Regions from separate parts of the Homo sapiens genome. Here all the other regions are linked to region 1. The links are contacts of gene promoters, found by promoter capture Hi-C in blood cells and fetal thymus (Javierre and others, 2016). All regions are on one chromosome and are shown on one strand. The core of a region is centred on a gene start or on the middle of the fragment in contact, and the rest is flanking DNA. Distances in the headings are between cores, read along the strand shown.

Region 1 (2,700 bases), core at 148-2,647:
GCAAATCTGAATAATTAACCACCCCCCCCCCCGAAATATCATTGTATAAAAACTAGAAGCAGGAATTTTTTTTGATTGCCTGGACAGTTGATAAACAAATTAAGAGCTAAGGAAATTCCAGTTTAGGAAAAACTGGCCTTAATATTCTAGTAAATGCTTTGTCAGTCTGTTTTGATTTGGCAACGAAGAACTCACATCATAATGCAAGAGTTCGAGCTGGGTGAGCCGAAGAGTGTGCAGTCAGCCATTTTTCCCGGACAATATCAGCTCCACTTGACACATCCTGCTGTGAGAGAAAAATTGGTGGTTGAGATGAAATAGCTTCAGGGTTTCTGCATATATAAATGTTAAAATAGAAACAGCCTAAGGAGAAATTATATGTTGGCTATAACCTTCTCCTTTTGAGTCAGCATCTCAAGCATTTGTGTATAACATTCCTGTTCAGGATATATTAACCACTCTTTTTTTTTTTAAATTAGAAAGAGTAAATCTTTAAAAAAAAGTCTGATCCTGTTATAAGTGGGTAGGAAAAATGCGCCTACGTTTTTAACATGTAAATTTGCTATGATCACAATCCCAACATAAGGAAAGCATTATACACTCACATCTTCCACTATCCTTAATTAGACAGCTTTGGGATGTGGATGTGGAACCCCAATGCCCTCTGCTGATTCAGTTAGGTGGTTAACATGCAGTATTGGTGAGGCAGAGAACAGGAGTTCAATCTCTGTAATGGGACAACTGGATTTCATGAAGTTATATTTGGAAAAAAGACCACAGTTGGAACAACTTTCATGGGATACATAAGACTATCAAGACACAGCTTAATGTCAAACGAACTCTACTTTTAAAAAGGGAAAGACCTAACCAAAATGTTCAAAAAAGATGAAGATATGCAATAAAGATGTATGAAAGCAAACCCAGCTCATCAAACCCAATTGTTAGAGAGAAAATAACTTAAACTTCCTTGTCCTGAGGATAGACCAGCAGTCATATCATTTCCATCTAAGAGAAACAGGAAGTAGTTATTGCTGGTACATGTGGTTCAATGCCTACTTACGCCATACCCCTTTTCTCTCCTTATTATTGATGTAGAACCTCGCTGGACGAGGCCCTGCAGTGGCGTGATTCCCTGGACAAACTCCTGCAGAACAACTGTAAGTTTCCATTGTTTGTTTTTTTAAATAAAGGTCAGGTTAGAGACAGAAACAAAAAACATCTTTGTATTACCTGTGTTCTTCTTCCCCAATGTTGACATTTCTTCAATTTTTGAAGGTGATATCAATAAGGGAAGGGGGCTGCAGGTATGTGATTATCCAGTTCACAAGAAAAGGAGGGTCTGTGGCACTATGAGGGAATGTGAACATAAGGTGTTCTGAAGACTCATGATTGCAGTTGTGTTCCCATCTGTCCTGCTTACTTGCATGAGCCAGAACAAGTGGCTTGACCTCCTCAACATTCTCATCAGTAAAATAGAGAAATTACATTTCCTGACTTAGCCTCATAATAAATTGATAAAGATCAGATATAGCAGCATAAAGATCGCTAACAAGTCATGAGTAGTACATCCTGGTTCAAACTATTATACTGTCAACTGCTCTTGTGACCTGACATGGGTTGTTATCTCCCCCAGCCTCCGTTTCCTCTTCTGGCACCATGCCTTTTACATCTTAATTCAAGAAATGACAAAGGTGCTGATCAGTGCAGACTCTTTTCCAAGCTAATACCAGTGCATCAATAAGCACTAGGTGCATTTCCCCAATCCAAAATCCTTACTGATTCCCATGGCTTACAGTACCAAGTTCAAATTTCTGATGTTCAAGATCACCATAACTATATGGCCGGTCTGCAGGCAAATTGAACAGTTCTCTGTTCCATATAGGATTTCTACATATAATCCCCTTGGCTGGAATATCTTTTACTCATATCTCTCTCTCTTGAAATTCTCCCTCTCCTATAATAGATAATTCAAATAAGAAATGCCTAGTGTTCCTTGACCATCCAGAACAATTTATCCACCCTCTGAAATTCCAAAGTCATTTGTCTGCACATCTTTTATTCTACTTAATACTTGCTGCCTTATGTTCTGTTCATAGTTGGCTCACTTCTATGATAGGTTATAAACTCACAAACGGGCAAGAATTAGTCTTTTTCATGTAGATAATTTCAAAACAGGAAGTATATAGTATCGGGAAAACAAATATTTGTTGAATAATTCACTCTAAAAGTATGAGTCAATTTAAAATACCCTACCTATATTTCTCCATCTTTATAACAAGAATGGAATATGAAACTTTGTCACATGCTTTGCAAAGATAAGGATTTACAAAATATTTCTCACAAGACCATTATGATTAATGGGCACAGAGTAGATGACAAAGAATATATGTTGAATTGTATATGAACATTCCTTATGTCTTGCTTTTGGTGTCATAAGCTTCTGCTTACCTGCAATAGAATTAATCTTTTATTTTTGGAGACAGAACCCCACAGTCTCTAATTTGGAACTTTCTCTAGCTTATTCATTTCTGATTCTCTCTCTTTTTTTCTTGTGCTAAACAAAGTACCCTGCCCTGACACATGTAAGATGTTTGGTGAATAGTTATGTAGTGAATGAGTGAATGAACTAAATTCATTTTGCTTCTTGGACCTAGAAATTCCACAAGGTCAACTAGTAGAATAATATTTATGTTTATTAAT
Region 2 (2,700 bases), core at 14-2,513, 170 kb after region 1:
ACATGGGGCAGGTGATCGCCTGTTGCCCTACTCCATCTCACACCAAACAGCCCCCTCCAGCTCTGCTGGGCCTTTTGTGGTTTCCTGAAGATCTGCAATGCTGTTTCAACTTGTTTGCAGTACCCGTACCTCTGGTTTGCAGTACCAGTATCTCTCCAGCTACAGAGATCTAGCTGGAGTATTCTTCAACAAGTTTTTGTTTAACCTTCAAAATTCAATTCCCACGGCCACCTCTCCTGTCTGCTTTCTCTAACTCCCATTTCTGCCTGCTTTGCCTCCCCCCACTCTCCTTCTTGAACCTCTCCACATTTGCACACATGAAGTTAACTAATTTGTCCTCTAGCCTTCGCATAACATAGTATCTGCCTCCATTTCCACTCACCACATTACTTCAGTTTTTTGTTTTTTTTGTTTTTAAGAGATGGAGTCTCGCTCCATCACCCAGGCTGGAGTGCAGTGACGACTCAATCTTGGTTCACTGCAACCTCCGCCTCCCGGGTTCAAGGAATTCTCCTGCCTCAGCCTCCCGAGTAGCTGGGACTACAGGCACATGCCGCCACACCTGGCTAATTTTTTTTTTTTTTTTGTAGTAGAGATGGGGTTTCACCATGTTTCCCAGACTGGTCTCAAACTTCTGAGCTCAGGCAATCCTCCCGCCTTGGCCTCCCAGAGTGCTAGGATTACAGGTGTGAGCCACTGCACACAGCCTGGATTTTTTAAATGTTAGTCAGCCTCCCGCTACTGAGTATGAGTTCCTTGGGGGCTGGAATGATACCTTCTGGATTTTTTAAGGGGAATGGCCATTAAGTATTAACATAAATGAACATCTGAGGTTGGATATGTGTTTTACGTTGCCCTCTTGAAATAAGATAAGCGGGTATGGTGAAGGAGTCACAGTGATTAATGGATAAGAATACCAGAAGCCATGGTCATGAGATTAGGGAAAATGTTGAAAAACTCCCTGAATAATGCCAGTGTTCATGGCTGTAAAGTTTATGACAATAAACTATGACAAACACTGTGAGAACAGTGAAAGAAAAGCCTAATACTTTGGGGTACACTGAAAAAATCAGGGTGCTGCACCTTGTGATGGCTTTTCATAATGAGCATCGAATGCCATGAACTGCACTTAGTTCTCTCCAGAAGTCACCCTTCTTCTTTTTCTCACAGAATTTCCACTGATGCCATTGCTTGAAGGGAGGCTTGGTAAGTGCTTGAAAAGAGTGTCCTCATCTTGGCTCCAGAGAGCCCACTGACAGATGACACACAAAGACAATAAAGGTGGGCTGACGTAAAACCTCACAGGACAGGAGACAGGACGAGGGCAATGTGTCTCTTTAGAAACGTGAATTCTTGAGGCTCTTCAAATACACATTTAGTGAGATTAAAAAGAACATCTCTAGCTTTTTGTAAAATGTAGAACCTTGAAGTCAGCATCTTTACTCTCAGTGTGGAAGGTGCCAAAGAAATAACATTTAACAGAAGTCTAGAAATGTCCCCTCAGCTTAAGAGAATGGGTCCAAAAAGGTGACATCGAGTCCTTTTGTCTTTTCACTTGGATCCCACATTGGACACATGGTTTGTCTGTGCTATCCACAGCAAGACTGGAGTGGGGAGGATGTGGCTGGAGCAGGGAGGATTTCTGTGGAGAAGCCTATGCTCAAATATGGATCTGCCCCTATAATGTGTTCCCTAGGCATGAAATGAGGTTAAATTCCAAAGCCTTCAGTATAGAGTACAATTTTAATGCATATACTTTAGTTGGAATGAAGAATTTGTGCAGGGAAGGGCCTGAGAGCAGATTTTAGATGGAGCAGGGCAAAGAAGAGAATATAGGTTGGGGAGAAGGAATCACTGTTTAGGGGAATAGCTCAACAAGAGACTGTGGTTGACAGAGGAAAATGCCATAACCTGTCCTAGGGGTAAGAAGGCACCTGTGCTTTCTTCTAAAGTCCTCCAATTCCTGATCTGAAAACTGGCAATGATGACCGGCTCTTGCCTCTTTGATCTAGAGATACACATTTTCTTCACACAGCGAGGGAGACATCCACTGCACAGCTACTGCCATTTTCTTCCTGGGACCCATTTCAACTCTCAAGTTCTATAACTTCACAATTCTTCAAGAGAAAAAAATAGGAGGAATAAATATTAAGTATGTGCTAATTCTTTCTGATGAGCTGAATTTGGGGTGGTGATGAGGGTTTGTAGGGGGTTGCATGGGAATGATCATTTACACTCGTAGGATATTAGAAGTGTTAAGGATTTTATTTCTGTTTTAATCCTACAGGCTTTACATTGTATATAGATCGCTGCAGAAAAAGTATGTGACTTATCCAAGATCACTAAGTAGTGGCTGTGTTTATTCTAGTTAGAAAACCTCCTGAACTCACTACCTTATGAGATTTCCATTAGAACTTTAATTGCAATTGGCTTAGAGCATTCTAAAGCTGAGTGATGAAATGGGGAGAGATAAGCTGGAATTCTAAACTACTTGGAAACCACATGATCCTTAAACAACCTTGACCCAATGCCCCGGGGATGGGAAAGGATACTGAGATCAATCGTTTTATCTCCTTTCATAGGACGCATGTGAGGGGCAGCAGTGTCCCTGATCTAAAATCCACCAGGTGCCTCAGAGGGTTCTGCAGGTCTTTTCCCAAGATAGAGCATCCCCTGGAGGTGGGAAACTTGTAATGACAC
Region 3 (2,700 bases), core at 55-2,554, 250 kb after region 1:
AAAAAAGGAAAGAAAGGATATCTGAAGAAATAATGGCTGAAAACTTCCCAGATTTTGATGAAAACCATTAATCTACACATCCAAGAAACTCAACATACTCCAAATAAGATAAACATCAAGGAATCCATATGTCATAATCAAACTGTCAAATGACTGAAATAATTTTGAAAGCAGCAAGAGAGAAGTGACTTTTCACATACACAAGAGATTCTCAATAAGATTAACAACTGATTTCTCATCAGAAACAATGGGGAATAGAAGGCAATGAGATGACATATTCAAAGTGCTGACAGATTTTTAAAAAAAAAAAAGACAAAACTATTAAACAGGAACTCTATATCCAGCAGACCAGTAAAGGTGTTTTTCAAAAATGCAGGAGAAATTAAAACATTTGTAAATAAATAAAAACAAGAGAATTTATTATTAGCACACCTGCCCTACCAAAAAACACTGAAGTGTTTCCTTTAGGCTGAAATGAGAGGATGCTAGACAGTAGCTTGTTTGTTTGTTTGTTTGTTTGTTTGTTTGTTTGTTTTTCCCCAAGACTGAGTCTTGCTCTGTTGCCCAGGCTGGAGTGCAGTGGCATGATCTCTGCTCACTGCAACCTTCACCTCCCAGGTTCAAGCAATTCTCCTGCCTCAGCCTCCTAAGTAGCTGGAATTACAGAGACCTGCCACCACGCCAGGCTAATTTTTGTATTTTTAGTAGAGTTGGGGTTTCACCATGTTAGCCAGGCTGGTCTCGAACCCCTGACCTCATGATCTGCCCACCTCAGCCTTCAAAAGTGCTGGGATTACAGGCGTGAGCCACTGCGCCCGGCTGACAGTAGTTTTAATCCACATGCAGAAATAAAATACTAGTAAGGTAACTACATAAGCAAATATAAAACACAGTATAAGTCTATCTTTTGTTTGTAGCTCTTTTTTCTTCCATTTGACTTAAAAGTCAATTGCGTAAAGAAATAATTATAAATCTATACTGACAGTCAAATAATACATAAAAATACAAATTGTAGAACAATAACATCACAAAGGAACAAGGAGAGATTGGAGCTATATATATTATATACTGTCTCAACTAAATTGGTATTAATCCAAACTAAATTATTAAAAAGAATATGTTCATTGTAATCCCCAGGACAACCACTAAGAGAATAACTCAAAAAAATAGTAAACATTGATAAGGGAATTAAAATGGTACACTAGAAAGTATCTAGTTAATAGAAAAGAAGACAGTAATGGAGTAACAAACAAAAAAAGACATGTAGAAAATGAAGACTGTCAGATTTAAATCCTTTACCAGTAACTATATAAACTATAATGCATTAATCATAATTAATAAGTATAATAATTATATAAAATATAAATGCATTAAGCACTTAAAAGAGATTGAAAGAGATTGGCAGAACAAATTTTTAAATGATTCAACTATTTGTTGTCTAGAGAAAAACACTTCAGATTCAGAGACACAAATAGGTTGAAAGTAAAAGACTCAAAAAAGATGTATCATACAACAAGTAATCAAAAGAGAGTAGAGTGACTGAGCTAATCCAAACAAAATAGACTTTAAGAAAAAATTGTTACTGAAGACTTTCTTCCTCCTGACACCAGATATGTAGTCTTTTGCAATAACACTTCTTCAACTCTCAAACAACTAAGTGTCCTATAATTCAATTTAGTTCTGACACCAACTGCACAGAATTAGCATTAGACTTCACAGGTTTGAGAGCTCAGTCCCACAAAACTGCCCTCACTTTAGACACTAGCCATAGATCCTCAGATTACCCAGACTTCTTTCTGACATGGCTACAAATCTGGGGTTCCTCATAACCTCCCCCATGGCCTCACATTCAGCTCAGTTTTGATAATTTGCCAGAACAACTCACAGAACTCAGTAAAGTGTTTTTACTTGCTATTCACCAATTATTACAAAGGAGACACATCGGAACAAAGAATACAACTTTTTGAGGCATGAAAGAGAAACACAGGACAGGGTATGGAGAGGGGAGGCACAGAGCTTCCATGCCACACTGGGCATGCAAATTTCTCAGCTTCTTGATGTGTTCACTAATCTGGAAACTCTCTGAACCTCATCATTTAGAATAGCTTATGGAGGTTTCATTACATAGGCACGACTGATTAAATCATAGTCTGTGATTAAATTGCTATTGATGATTAACTCAGTCTCTAGTCCTTCTTTTCTCCCTGGAGTTTGGAGTATGGGGCTGAAACTTCTAAAACTTGGCTTTTCTGGAGACCAGCTCCCTTCCTGAAGCTATCTAGTGGCCTTCCAAGAAGAGTCACCTCATTAGAACAAAAGACAGTTCAAAATCCATATCGCTTAAAGAATTCCAAGAGTCTTAGAAGCTCTGTGCCAGAAACTGGGGACAAAGGCTAAACATCTTTCTTATTATGCCACAGGGACCCTTTATAATAATAAAAATCAACTCATCAAGTGGAGATAACAATCATAAACACCAATAAACTTAGCTACTGTAGCAAAAACTATAGAATTAAAGAGCAAAATAGGCACAATTCAATGATAATAGATATTTGAATACCCCACTTTCTTTTTTTTTTTTTTTTTTTGAGATGGAGTGTCACTCTGGCACCCAGGCTGGAGTGCAGTGGCACGTTCTCAGCTCACTGCAAGCTCCACCTCCCAGGTTCACACCATTCTCCTGCCTCAGCCTCCCAAGTA

Evidence for each region. The method cuts DNA at HindIII sites, captures the fragments that hold promoters and counts their contacts. A CHiCAGO score of 5 or more calls a contact.
Region 2: a contact is called between a fragment that was not itself captured here and the fragment with the promoter of RGS5-AS1 in region 1, in 1 of 17 cell types (monocytes). The highest score is 5.2, in monocytes.
Region 3: a fragment that was not itself captured here is called in contact with the fragment with the promoter of RGS5-AS1 in region 1 in 3 of 17 cell types (monocytes, M2 macrophages and endothelial precursors); the score reaches 7.5 in monocytes.

What each region holds. Positions count from the first base shown.
Region 1 is chr1:163,160,372-163,163,071 of GRCh38, reverse strand. It overlaps RGS5-AS1 (RGS5 antisense RNA 1), which reads right to left and starts at 1,397. Exons shown (of 4, transcript NR_110699.1): 1 at 1,231-1,397; 2 at 196-286. RGS5 (regulator of G protein signaling 5) reads left to right here. Exons shown (of 5, transcript NM_003617.4): 3 at 1,096-1,157. The HindIII fragment of the contact is 14,512 bases long and covers 1-2,439 here.
Region 2 is chr1:162,989,028-162,991,727 of GRCh38, reverse strand. No RefSeq gene overlaps it. Among named protein-coding and RNA genes, the nearest start is that of RGS4, 79 kb to the left of the region's middle. The HindIII fragment of the contact is 4,782 bases long and covers 1-2,700 here.
Region 3 is chr1:162,909,771-162,912,470 of GRCh38, reverse strand. No RefSeq gene overlaps it. Among named protein-coding and RNA genes, the nearest start is that of CCDC190, 50 kb to the right of the region's middle. The HindIII fragment of the contact is 5,166 bases long and covers 1-2,700 here.